Regions from separate parts of the Homo sapiens genome. Here region 1 is linked to region 2. Evidence: promoter capture Hi-C in human tissues and cell types (Jung and others, 2019). All regions are on one chromosome and are shown on one strand. Each heading gives the region's core, a stretch centred on a gene start or on the middle of the fragment in contact. The rest is flanking DNA. Distances are from core to core; before and after follow the strand shown. Region 1 overlaps PTPN3 (protein tyrosine phosphatase non-receptor type 3). Region 2 holds the start of ACTL7B (actin like 7B).

The links. Contacts are between HindIII fragments. The study calls those that stand out against the background at their distance.
Region 1: a contact is called between a fragment that was not itself captured here and the fragment with the promoter of ACTL7B in region 2, in 1 of the 25 tissues and cell types used here (lymphoblastoid cells).

What each region holds. Positions count from the first base shown.
Region 1 is chr9:109,452,431-109,458,151 of GRCh38, forward strand. PTPN3 (protein tyrosine phosphatase non-receptor type 3) reads right to left here. Exons shown (of 26, transcript NM_002829.4): 3 at 4,862-4,969; 4 at 4,743-4,785; 5 at 2,066-2,144. Among named protein-coding and RNA genes, the nearest start is that of PTPN3, 43 kb to the right of the region's middle. The HindIII fragment of the contact is 4,671 bases long and covers 1,400-5,721 here.
Region 2 is chr9:108,852,163-108,858,005 of GRCh38, forward strand. ACTL7B (actin like 7B) reads right to left here and starts at 3,824. Exons shown (of 1, transcript NM_006686.4): 1 at 2,426-3,824. The coding sequence starts at 3,768. The coding sequence ends at 2,521. The HindIII fragment of the contact is 7,542 bases long and covers 3,454-5,843 here.

The DNA of each region.
Region 1 (5,721 bases), core at 2,485-4,984, 600 kb after region 2:
CACTGGTTAGAACCACACACACGTACACATGTACATACATACATAATCACACACATTATATATAATATATATAAAAGACACATATACATGTAAACACACACATATTATGTTGTTTTTAAGACATCCCTTCAACAGAGCCTTTTTTTTTTTTCTGCAACAGGGTCTCAGTCGATCACTTAGGCTGGAGTACATGGCTTGATCATGGCTCACTGCAGCCTTGAACTTCTGGGCTCAAGTGATCCTCCTAGTTAGCCTCCTGAGATGCTGACACATGCACCACCACACCTGACTACTTTTTTATTTTTATTTTTGTAGAGGCAGGGTCTTGCTATGTGGCCCAGGCTGGTTTCAAACTCCTGGCCTCAAGTGACCCTCCCGCCTTGGGTTCCTGAAGTGCTGGGAAGCTCACAAGTATGAGCCACCATGCCTGGCCCAGAGTGTGTTATTTAGTACTGGCCTGAGGAAACCTTGGTAGGGTCATTTCAAACACATTCTTATAGATTTCATCACCAGCTCTGTGTCCGTCAGCTTATGAAGTAACCTGCTGGGCTGAGTGTTTCTATCCTATCCCCAGTTTACCAGCATAAAGAGCTGGTATGGGGAAAACTCAGAGGACAGGGCATGCTTCTGTGTGGTCACCGGATGTGTCATACCAGACACCTTGGACATTGGCTTAAAAAGTAATAAAAAATACAGTCAAATTCCCAGTGTCTGCTATAGTAGAGGGAGGAGGTGCACAAAGAAGGCAAAATACAGTAACAGATTAATATTTGGCCTTTCAACATATTACAAGTTAAAATGTGATGTAATTACTGCTAAAAAAAATTAACAAGGCAACACTCTGTGTCTGAGTTAATGCTGCCTCCTTGATTATGTCTTTTGGCCACGATGAATGTAAAACAGGATTCAATACTAAGCATCTATTGCTTTTTTTCTATAGCTTCCCTCCCTAAGAAAAATAAATGGATCAATAATAAAAGGGCTTAACGTTGCCACAGGGGAGGGAAAGTTTGTTTGTGCAGTCTGTGTTAAAACAGCAACAACTTTCTTGTGCTACACTCTCCTACTCCATTCCAATTACTCTGTCCCTCACACCTAGAAAAACCCCAGTACCAGCCCAGGGTTGGGAGAGACTCCAAGCCCTGAGGGGTAAACAACTCCTATCACAGCCCTCTTTCCCTTATCTGGTTCACATATTTCCTGTACTTGCTGATTCACTGAGAAGACAAGCTGAATCCAGCCTGCTCTCCTTTCTAACTCTTGCAAACTGGGGATCTGATAGAAAATTCTTATAACAAAGCTGGCCTGGTGACTCATGCCTATAATCCCAGCACCTTGGGAGGCTGAGGCAGGCAGATCACTTGAGGTCAGGAGTTTGAGACCAGCCTGGACGACATGGAAACCCCATCTCCGTTAAAAAAAAAAAAAAAAAAAATTAGCCAGGCATGGTGGTACCTGCCTGTAATCCTAGCTACTCGGGAGGCTGAGGTGGGAGGATCGCTTGAACCTGGGAGGCGGAGGTTGCAGTGAGCCAAGCTCGCACCTCTGCGCTCCAGCCAGGGTGAAGAGAGAGACTCCGTCTCAAAACAAAAAAAAAGAAAGAAAATTCTTATAACAAGAGATGTCTTGTTATCTTCAAGAGCCTTGATTTTAGCTCTTCAGAGACATCATGCTATTTGACCTGTGGATGACTATTTTACAAATTTGTCTTCTACATCCTGCCTACATTGGTAGAAAATGACTTTTTGTCCTTTGAGCACAGTGTGTTCAGCAGGCAGGAGAGGCCAGGGAGGTGGAAGGAGGTGGGAGAGGTAGGAGGTGGCAGATGGGAGTATGCTGGGAATGGCAGCAAATCAGGAGATAAGAGAAGCAGGCCCAAGACTGAAAACTCATTAGGTGATTAAAATGTCAGTATGTGCACCCCAGATTTTTACTTGGATCATCATTGTTGGTGTAGTTACACCCAAATGAAGTTATTTGGCCATAGTAATAAAATGAAGAGTACATTTTTAGTGGTTACTCATTTTTATACACTAAACAGAAAACTTTAAAAAAATGTTGTTACCTGGTTTGTTCTTGCTGCAGTGTGTTGGGATCAGGTATAAAAAATCTTACTCGAAAATGCAGGGTACAGGGGAAACCTCCTACAACATTTTTCAAAAACAAATTAAATTTTCCCTTTGACAAAGTCAATGTATGTAAGTTGCTTCTCTTCCATAAGTGATGCATTTTTTCACTCAACCATAGCTTTTTCCATTATAAAAGGGCTAATTTCAAACATGGAGTACATAAGTTAGTTGTTTCAGAAATCTCCAAGTCTTCAAAAAGTAAAACATTTATGCAACATCAGCACAGACTGAGTTATCATCTACTTCCTAGCACACGTTTATCTTAGGGCTGTGTTTAAACATTGCACTCCGTCATCTGTATTAGGAATTTAAAAAATCCTTAAATCGGCATTATTATGCAAAATATACAAAGAAATAATAGCCTGCGTTTGTGTAGCCATTTATAAGTTTCAAGCATTTTCATGTACATTCCTGCATTTCAACACCACCATGACTATGAGTGGGCTACGCTGCTACTGGTAGCCCCATTTTACAGATAAGCCAATTAGAGGTGACTTGCCTTAGGTCACACAGCTGGTGACAAAACCAGAATTAGAGTAATGAGATCTTTGATTCTGCTATACCACATTTCAAAATCATTTTTAAACTAGAAAATATCTCATGCTTTTAATGTAAAGTATATTAAGTTAGTATACTAGTAAATCACACAATGAACATATTCAAATACGGCTTTATGCATCAACATCTAGAGTCAATTTGCTTGTGTGGATAAAATTAGTCCATTTCTTCTCACAGAGACGGCAACAGGAGAAGATCAGATTGTGCTGCTAAGATCCCAAGATCTTCATGTCAATTTCACCATCATCCCTCAGTAAATATTCGCCAGCCCTATCTAGGCACTGAGCACTTTCTTGCTCTCTGCAACTCAAGTCCTTCTCACTAGCCTGCTAGATCTCCTCCTCTACCTGAGATCATCCTGAGCTCTACCCTCCCTGCTCTTTAGTGCTTTCTTTCTTCATCTGCAGCGTGTGTTCAAAGAATCCCTAACGGGGGTGTGCCCCTGAGTACACCTGTCCACATGTCTAGGTACCAGCGGATGGCGCTATGACAATCTGCACATCAGGGGAGAACAATGTCCTCCTGCTGCCTTGGGATGCTTGTTCACCTCCCCTCCCCCTCTTCTAAAACTTTTCATCTCTGCGCTGCAGGCATAGCCTCTTTTTCTTTCTGGCTGTCCCCTATCGTGTGCTTACTATTATCATAGAATGTCGAACCCTCTGGGCTGTCTGCACACTTGGCTGTGGGCTCCTTGAGGGGAGAGTCCAAATTTGATCTGGACTGGATTCCCAGGGCTTAGCCCAGCACCTTGCCACAGTCTGAGCTCAGGATACGTTCACCGAAAGCAGGAGTTAATGAGAGAATGAATGACAACACCTATTCATGCCTTGTGTGGACTCATTCCTGGGGACTTGGATGAGGCAGGTATTTGTCTGCAAGTGGCCCTGAGGCTCCCACAGGTACTTCTGAACGCAGAGGATGCAGCTCATGGGAGGGAAGAACTTTGAGAATCGGGCTCCCTGTGGGGGCAGCAGTGAGACGGGAGCGAAGGCCACTGTGTCTACTTCTTCCTGCCTGGGTGCTGAGGCAGGTGTGCGTGTGTGTGTTGGGGGGCATCCTGTGTATGCGCACCTGCGTGCGCAAATCCACTTGCCCTTCTCCACTCCGCCATGCACTGGCCACTTTTTGTGTGTGTTGGGCACCTTGGGGATGCAGAGAGAAATATAACAAGGGTCCTAACCTCAAGGAACTTGCAGTTCTGAGAGGGAACTAAAGGCAACTAACACAGATGAGGACAAGAGCATTCAGAACCCCAACACGGGTGATGGTAAATCTAAGAGAATGTCGAGGGAGCCACCCACAGTTTCTAGGAGAGGAAATGAGATCTGAGCAGCCTTGAAAAAAGGCAGGATTTCGACAGAGGGAAGTGGGAGGGAAAAGCATTCCCAGCAGATGGAACAGACTGAGGGGAGGCACTGGGAGGCCCTGCAGATCAGCCAGGTTGGTCTGGGGCATGAGTGGCATAAAGGGGAACAATGCTGGCAATGTTGGAACATCAGGCCGAGAGCAGATCAGGGCAGAGGGTGGACTATGGTGTGGCCTGACTGGCCACCGAACTGGGAGTTAGCTGCAGCACTGGGATTCACTCCTGAGAGATAAGCGGTAGTTTGGAAGACTTAATCTTTTATATTGGTGACATTACCTACTTATGGTTCGGTTTTCCGTGAACGCGACTATGCTGTTGGAAAGTATGAGGTGTTTGTGTTTGTCTATCTCCCTGTCTCTCTTGTCCACCCTGGCTCTCACATCGGGCTAAGTAAGGCCATCCTCCTTCCTTTTCCTTCCTTGAATACAGAAATGTGGGTTCCCTCGCTCTGAGCTGCCTACTCTCACCCTTCCCCTTCTTTCCCACAGCTGGGGCGGATCCTAGAGGGCTGATCTGGAAGCATCTCTGCTGACTCAGAAGTCAGACAGGGAGAAGTCGGCTCACTCATGACTCCTGGACACCCGGAACTACAGGTACCAGATGTCACAGGCACTGACGATTGGAGGGGAGAAACAGGCTGTGATACACTAACACCTAATGTTCGACTGAAATGAAAAGATCACACCAACCTTTTAACTGCTTCCTGATGGCTTTGCTTGCTTCCAGCCATCTCTGTTGGACAAGAAAACATAAAATATAAAAGCAAACCGTGAAGGAGTTCAGCACATTTTTTAAAAATGGCACTTACAGGAGAGTCCACGGAGTCGTCATCATGCTGTAAACCAAAATATTCCTTTTCAGTCACACCCAGGTGGTTGTGCACCATATCCAGAAGAACCTGGCCAGTGTCTTGTTTCTAGAACAAAGGAAATTATCAAGTGGGAAAAGTCTTAAATTAATTGGTGGTAAAAACATCTTTACTGTAGGCAAAAAAGAGTTAAAATATTCAGAAATGCTATGCACACACACTTCCCACCACAAGAAAAGCTTTAATAAATTTTAAGAAGCCACACAGCACATATGGGAAGTAGGGCTAAGAAAAATGACATCAACACAAGACAATACGAGTTTAATTTAATTGTCTAAGATTTCTTCCTTCCCCCTTAGCTGCAATTCCCAAGTGATAATGTCTAAATCGGAAAACTCAGCTCTCATAATCACAGTGAACTCCCTGTGGCCTCCAGTGGATTATCCACAATGAAATGCTAACCCCAGGGTGGTTTCTGTTGGCTCCTCAGGACACACCTGTGGCTCCTACTCCTGGAGAAGCCACCGAAGTGCATGTCCAGGAAAGGAAAGCTCTCACCTAACAGCCTAAAGGAAGACAGCTAAAAATACTCAACTGCCATTCAAAATACCCTCAGAGTGATGTGGCCTGTGCCACCCTGTGGGATTATCTGCCTCCCTGCTTCCCCTTCCCATCATCTGAAGTGAGAAGCTGAGGGGCACGTTCAACCACACGCCTCTTCAGATCAGGACTCCATTGCCTTCCCCGCTCCATGTTTATGGGGCAGGCACGGTGTGGGAATGGGGACACGGCCATAAGAAGCTCCCTTTTCCTGCCCCAGCCATGGAGGCAGTGGCTGTAACAGAGTGTCAAAGGCCGTC
Region 2 (5,843 bases), core at 2,574-5,073:
GTCCCTGTAGTTCCCCTACCATTCTCTTTATTTGCACTGAGCTTATGCATTTATATTCTCTACTATGACTCCATGGAATCTGAGAAGGGAGGGGAGATAAACACACAGGGTCAGGAGGTCATCTTAAGCTGGAAGTCACTGACCCGTGTTTTTCCACCAAAAATAAATCTCCTGCTGAATCCTCTGGTTAGCTTAAATAAGTTCATGTCAGGGATCTAGCAATTAGTGTTTTTACAGCCCCTGCCACATGAGGGATGCTTTTGAGGAGATGACCATGTGTTGGAGGGACTGAAGCAGTGACTAGAGACAGGAGAAGTTGCTGAAGATGTGTGGAGTGAGGAGAGGAGATAAGGAGGGAATGGGGTTCACACGTAGCACTTACTGCGTGTGTGATTTGGGATATATCACTTTCCCTCTATAAGCCTCAGCTTCCCTCTCTGTATTTCATCAGGCTTTTTACAATCACTTGGGTTACAAGCAACAGAAACTAATGCTAAGGAAGAAGTTGTGTTGAAGCAGCAAATATATATGAAGACATCAGTGTGGCAGGGACGTTGGCAACCTCGAAAATGCAGCCCCACAGAAAAAAATTCACATTCAAGAAAACACTTGTACACTGTGATGGCCACATGAAACATGTCTATTGGCCACCTTCAGCCTCCAGGCCTCCAGTCTGCAACATCCCTCTATAGGAAAGAGCCCAGGTTCCATGCCTGCTGCCAACGCCCTGTTTGACCAGGGGTATTCAAACTCCAGGCTAGATGCCCAATTCTGGACAATGGGGAAGGACTAAAGAGCAGGGCCTTAGGTGATAATGACTATGTCTGGTTCTTGCCCAAGTCTGCAGCCCCCAGCACTGGGCCCAGGACAGAGGCAGCCTCATGGGGTGCCCCAAATCAGGACCCTTTGCTTAAGGTAAGAGGTGACTCAGGGATATTTAAGTCTCAGCCCATCCAAGACTATGCAGCTCATGGATGTCTGATCCCATAGATGGCACCAACTGGGTCATGAACTCCATTGGAAGGTGAGGGTAGGGAAGGGGGCAGGAACCCACTCTTCTAAGTAGGCAGTTAGTCACCAGCTGAAATCTCACAAGCCTCCACAGCCTCTCCCTCAGCCCCAAAGCCAATAAGTGGACACCATGCCCAGCAACTTCTCCACTTACAACATTCCAATGCATCACCACTACCTTCTCACCACCGTGAACACTTAGCTCAGACCTTGACTCCCTACCAATGTGGTTGTCCATTAGCTGTGTGTGATTGCCAAGGGTAGAGACTGTGTTCTGCTCATTTCTCAGTCCCCAGCACTGGGCCTGACCCACAGTACATGCATGGTAAGTGCTTTGGGTTGCTGACTAACCATTAAGAACCATGTTTATACCCTTATGGGAATAATCCTGATGTGGATCAGGAGACCTGGGCTCAACCACTGGCATTAAGCTGGCTCTCTCCTCTCTGGTCTCAGTTTACCTATCTCTCTTTTTTTTTTTTCTTTTTGGACATGGAGTCTTGCTCTGTTGCTCAGGCTGTAGTGCAATGACGCAACCTCAGCTCACTGCAACCTCCGCCTCCTGGGGTCAAATGATTCTCCCTGCTCAGCCTCCTGGGGAAGCTGGGATTACAGGTACCCACCACCATGTCCAGCTAATTTTTGTATTTTTAGTAGAGACAGGGTTTCACCATGTTAGCCAGGCTGGTCTCGAACTCCTGACCTTAGGTGATCCACCTGCCTCGGGTTCCCAGAGTGCTGGGATTACAGGTGTGAGCCACCGCACCCAGCCCAGTTTCCCCATCTCTATAGCCGGGAGAGGACCCGATTTCTAAAGGACCTTCTGGTTCCTCTGACATCCTCTGGAATCAGTGGCTCTGCTTTGTGACTCTGGAAAAATAGCTGCAATTTTGGCTGTGGTTGAAAGGGGTACGCCCACAGATGGGTTGAAATGGCACTTCACACTCTGGAGATGCACTGGCACAGCCTTAGGCTCCCATATTGAGGGTGGCAGGCACTAGGGGGAGGTTAGGGAACCTGGAGTGATCAGGCAGTGTTAAGGTTGGGAGCACTTGTGAACAGCAGAAACAGGAGACTGGAGTCGGACACCCAGCTGTGCATCTCCTCCAACCTACCGCTAGGTGACCCAAGCTAGTCCCTTCATCAGAGCCAACCCCCTTAGTTGAGCCAGCGATGAGGAGTGTCTTTGGATCAGGTTTTGAACCTGGAGGTACTAATAAAACAGGAGGCCACTTTCTAGGCCCTGAGATGATGTCACTATCATGAGGCAGGCAGAGGGGGTGGGATCAGTATGGTAGCCCCCTTCCTTACAGCCCCCACCTCCAGTGCAAAAGGTGCTGCCGCTTCTAAGCCCGACTCCCCCCTACCCTCTGCTATCAGATAGAAGCAAGAAACCCAGACTAGACAAGAGCCATTTCAGAGTAAACCTTTATGTGAAATTCTGTAAATGTGTATAGAGAGGCCTGTGGCCATCTGTGCTGGAGGCCTTGTCTGTGGAAATGCCGAGGCTCAGCACTTGCTGTAGATGGCCACGCTGCCCCGCTCCTCAAACTCTTCCTTGCTGACCCAGAGCTGTTGGAAGGCCTGCAGGGAGGCCAGGATGGAACCGCCGGTCCACACGGAGGTCTTCCTCTCAGGAGCGGCAGCCACTGCAGGGCTGTCCCCGGGGCAGAGGAGGCTCAGCTCCCTCTGGAAGCGCTCGGGGAAGCCATCCAGCATAGTGCAGCCGCCACACAGTAGCACGTTGGCGGCCATCTCCTCCTTGAAGCCCGTGTCCTGGCAGCGGCCCAGGCAGGCAGCTGTGAGCTCCGGGAGGCCCGGCTGGGTGCTGCCTGCCAGGGAGGGCTGGAAGAGCATCTCAGAGCAACGGAAGCGCTCCTGGCCAATAGTGATGAGTTTGCCGTCCGGGAGCTCGTAGTCCACGCGCAGCTCCTCCGGGACCAGGCCCAGCTCCTCCTCGGGCAGGAAGGCCGCATAGCAGCACTTCTTCTTGATGTGCTCTATGATGTGCAGGTGGTCGTCCGTGAATGCGTGGCCCGCCTCATTGAGCAGCTGCATCAGGTAGTTGGTGAGGTCACCCCCAGCGTAGTCGGCGCGGCTGGTCAGGCCCGGCAGCACGTCGCCCTCGGATATGGGCACCACGTGCGAGACGCCGTGCCCGCTCTCCACCACCAGCCCCGAGGTCTTGCCGTAGGAGTAGATGGACAGCAACGACTGGGACGTCACGTGCATGGCTGGGATGCCGAAGGTCTCAAACATGAGCTCCGCGTACTTCTCCCGGTTGCTGCTGGGGCTGAGCGGAGGGTCGGAGACCAGCACAGCGTGCTCCTCGGGGAGGATCTTCATGGCGGTGCGGAAGATGTACTCCCAGATGTCCTGCACGCAGTCCCAGTCCACCACGATGCCGTGCTTCAGCGGGTTCACCAGCTTGAGAGGCGCCTCCGTGTTGAGCAGCTCATGGCCCACTAAAGTCCACTTGCGGGTGTCGCCAGCGTCGGCCGCCTCGGGGCAGCGTTTGCCCACGGTGGAGGAGATGAAGTAGGTGGGCCTCGGCTCTCCCGCGTAGCCGCACTTGCAGTACTGGGAGCCCAGGTCGATGATGACCGCCTTGATCTTGTGCACCTTCCTGGGCTTCATCTTGAGCTGAGTGGCCGCACCTGTGTCCCGGAGGCTGGCGTCAGGGCCGGGCCGTGTTCCTGCCTCTCCAGGGTCACCCTGAGCCGTGCCCAGGGGCATGGGGCTGTTCCTTGTCGCCATCTGCCTCCCTTGCTCCCCTTCTCACATCCACAGCCTAGAGCCCCCTGGGGAGAAATGAGATCCCCCACCTCCAGCAGTGCCATGACAACCACCCGGGATTGTGATGTCACTCGGGGCTGGTCCATTCAGGCAGCAGGGGAGGGCCTGGCTTTGGTCGGTTCTTGGTGTGTCACCCCCACCTCTCTAACTCAAGTTTGCTCCCGGACAGAGCAGGTGGCCGGCAGTTTTAGAAATCCAAGCACACTAGGGTCTCAGAGGTTTCTGCTCAGCCCCCTTGCATTTCCATGCCTAACCTGTTCACTACTGGACACCTTTCCTCTTCTGCTTCTTGGTGGAGAGGGCCTATTTGAGCCCCTCCAGTAAGGCAGGCACTGTACTAGTTACTTCACTTATGTTGTTCTGCAGGTAGGCAGAGCTGAGGAAATGAGGCTCAGAATTCTAAGGACTTGCCCAAGAGCAAACAGCACTTGGGGTGTTTGTACCTTAACCCAAATTCATCAAACTCCAATGCACCAGGCCTCCTTAACCGCCCCAAGAGTTCTTTCCTCCCTTCACTCCACATTTACTGGAGTATATAGTAGGTCCCGCCCAGTGCAGCCTGCCAGTGATAGATGATTAAAAACCCAGGCCACCAGCAGTGCCCAGTCTAGACAAGAAAATGGAATGGGTGCCGATGGGTTTGCAGGAAGAAGTCTACTTGGAGAACTCATTTGAGACAGGCAGTCAGAAGGTGCTCTAGAGAGGAGGTGATGCTTAAGTTGAATCCTGGAAGAGGTGTAGGTATTTGTCAAGTAGTTAAGAGGAGGGGAAGACATCCCAGGCAGAGAGCACAGCTTGAGCAAAGGCTCAAATGGAGGCACGGTGAAGAACTTCCCACAGTCAAAGTGTTTGGAAAAACAGATGAAGCTAGAGAAGTCACAGAGCCAAATAGAAAGGGCATCAAATGGCAGGAGTAGGTTTAGACTAAACTGAGGAGAGCCAGGGAAGCTATGAAGACTTTAAGCAGGGGAATGATCAGATTTGCCCTCTAGAAAAATGTTAGAAAGGGCCGGGCGTGGTGGCTCATGCCTGTAATCCCACCAGCACTTTGGGAGGCTGAGGCAGGTGGATCATGAGGTCAGGAGTTCAAGACCAGCCTGGCCAAGATGGTGAAACCCCATCTCTACTAAAAATACAAAAATTAGCTGGGCATGGTGGCGGGTGCCTGTAATCCCAGCTACTTGGGGGGCTGAGGCAGAGAATTGCTTCAACCTGGGAGGCAAAGGTTGCAGTGAGCTGAGATCGCACCACTGCACTCCAGCCTGGGAGACAGAGTGAGACTCCATCTCAAAAAAAAAGAAAAGAAAAATAAAAATGTTAGAAAGATCTGCATTGGGCTGTAATGTAGAGAATGGATGGGAGGGGCAAGACTAGAAACTGAGACCCGAAACGAGGCCATTGGAGAACTTCTGATAAGACTTGAAGGTGGCCTGACCTAGGGCTGTGAGAGTGTGGAAACAAGGAAGAGCCTAGTTCTAGAGAAACTTAGAAAGTAGAATAGAATCCAATCTGTTTTTTCCCCAACCATCCCTCACTTTAATCCAAGCTCTTACTCTGACATTTCAGGGCTTCCCTCATGGGCTCCTGTGATGTGGGATGTGAGGCAGAGGGAAGGATGAATCGCTTACTTGTACCCGGGCAAAGAAAGATGGCCTGTCATCCAGAAAGGACAAATTCACGAGAGTGCCAGAGGGACCTGCAACTTAAGCTGCCCCCTCCCACTCCAAAAATCAAAAAGGCAGTTTAGGGCTTTGGTGGTGAAGAGTCAACAGAAAAAGGGGAAGAGCGGCAACTGGGCCTGAGGAAGTTTTCTGGGAGAATTAAGATGAGCAGAGGTGCCTGAGGAATTGATTAGGCAACATGCATGGGGGAAAAAGAGTTAAGAAATACTGCCATGGAGCATGTAAGAATGCTAATGAGGAATGTGTGGGGATTTTTGTTTGCCAAATTTTTGTTTGTTTGTTTGTTTCTGAGACAGAGTTTCGCTCTTTCGCCCAGTCTGGAGTGCAGTGGCGCGATCTCAGCTCACTGCAACC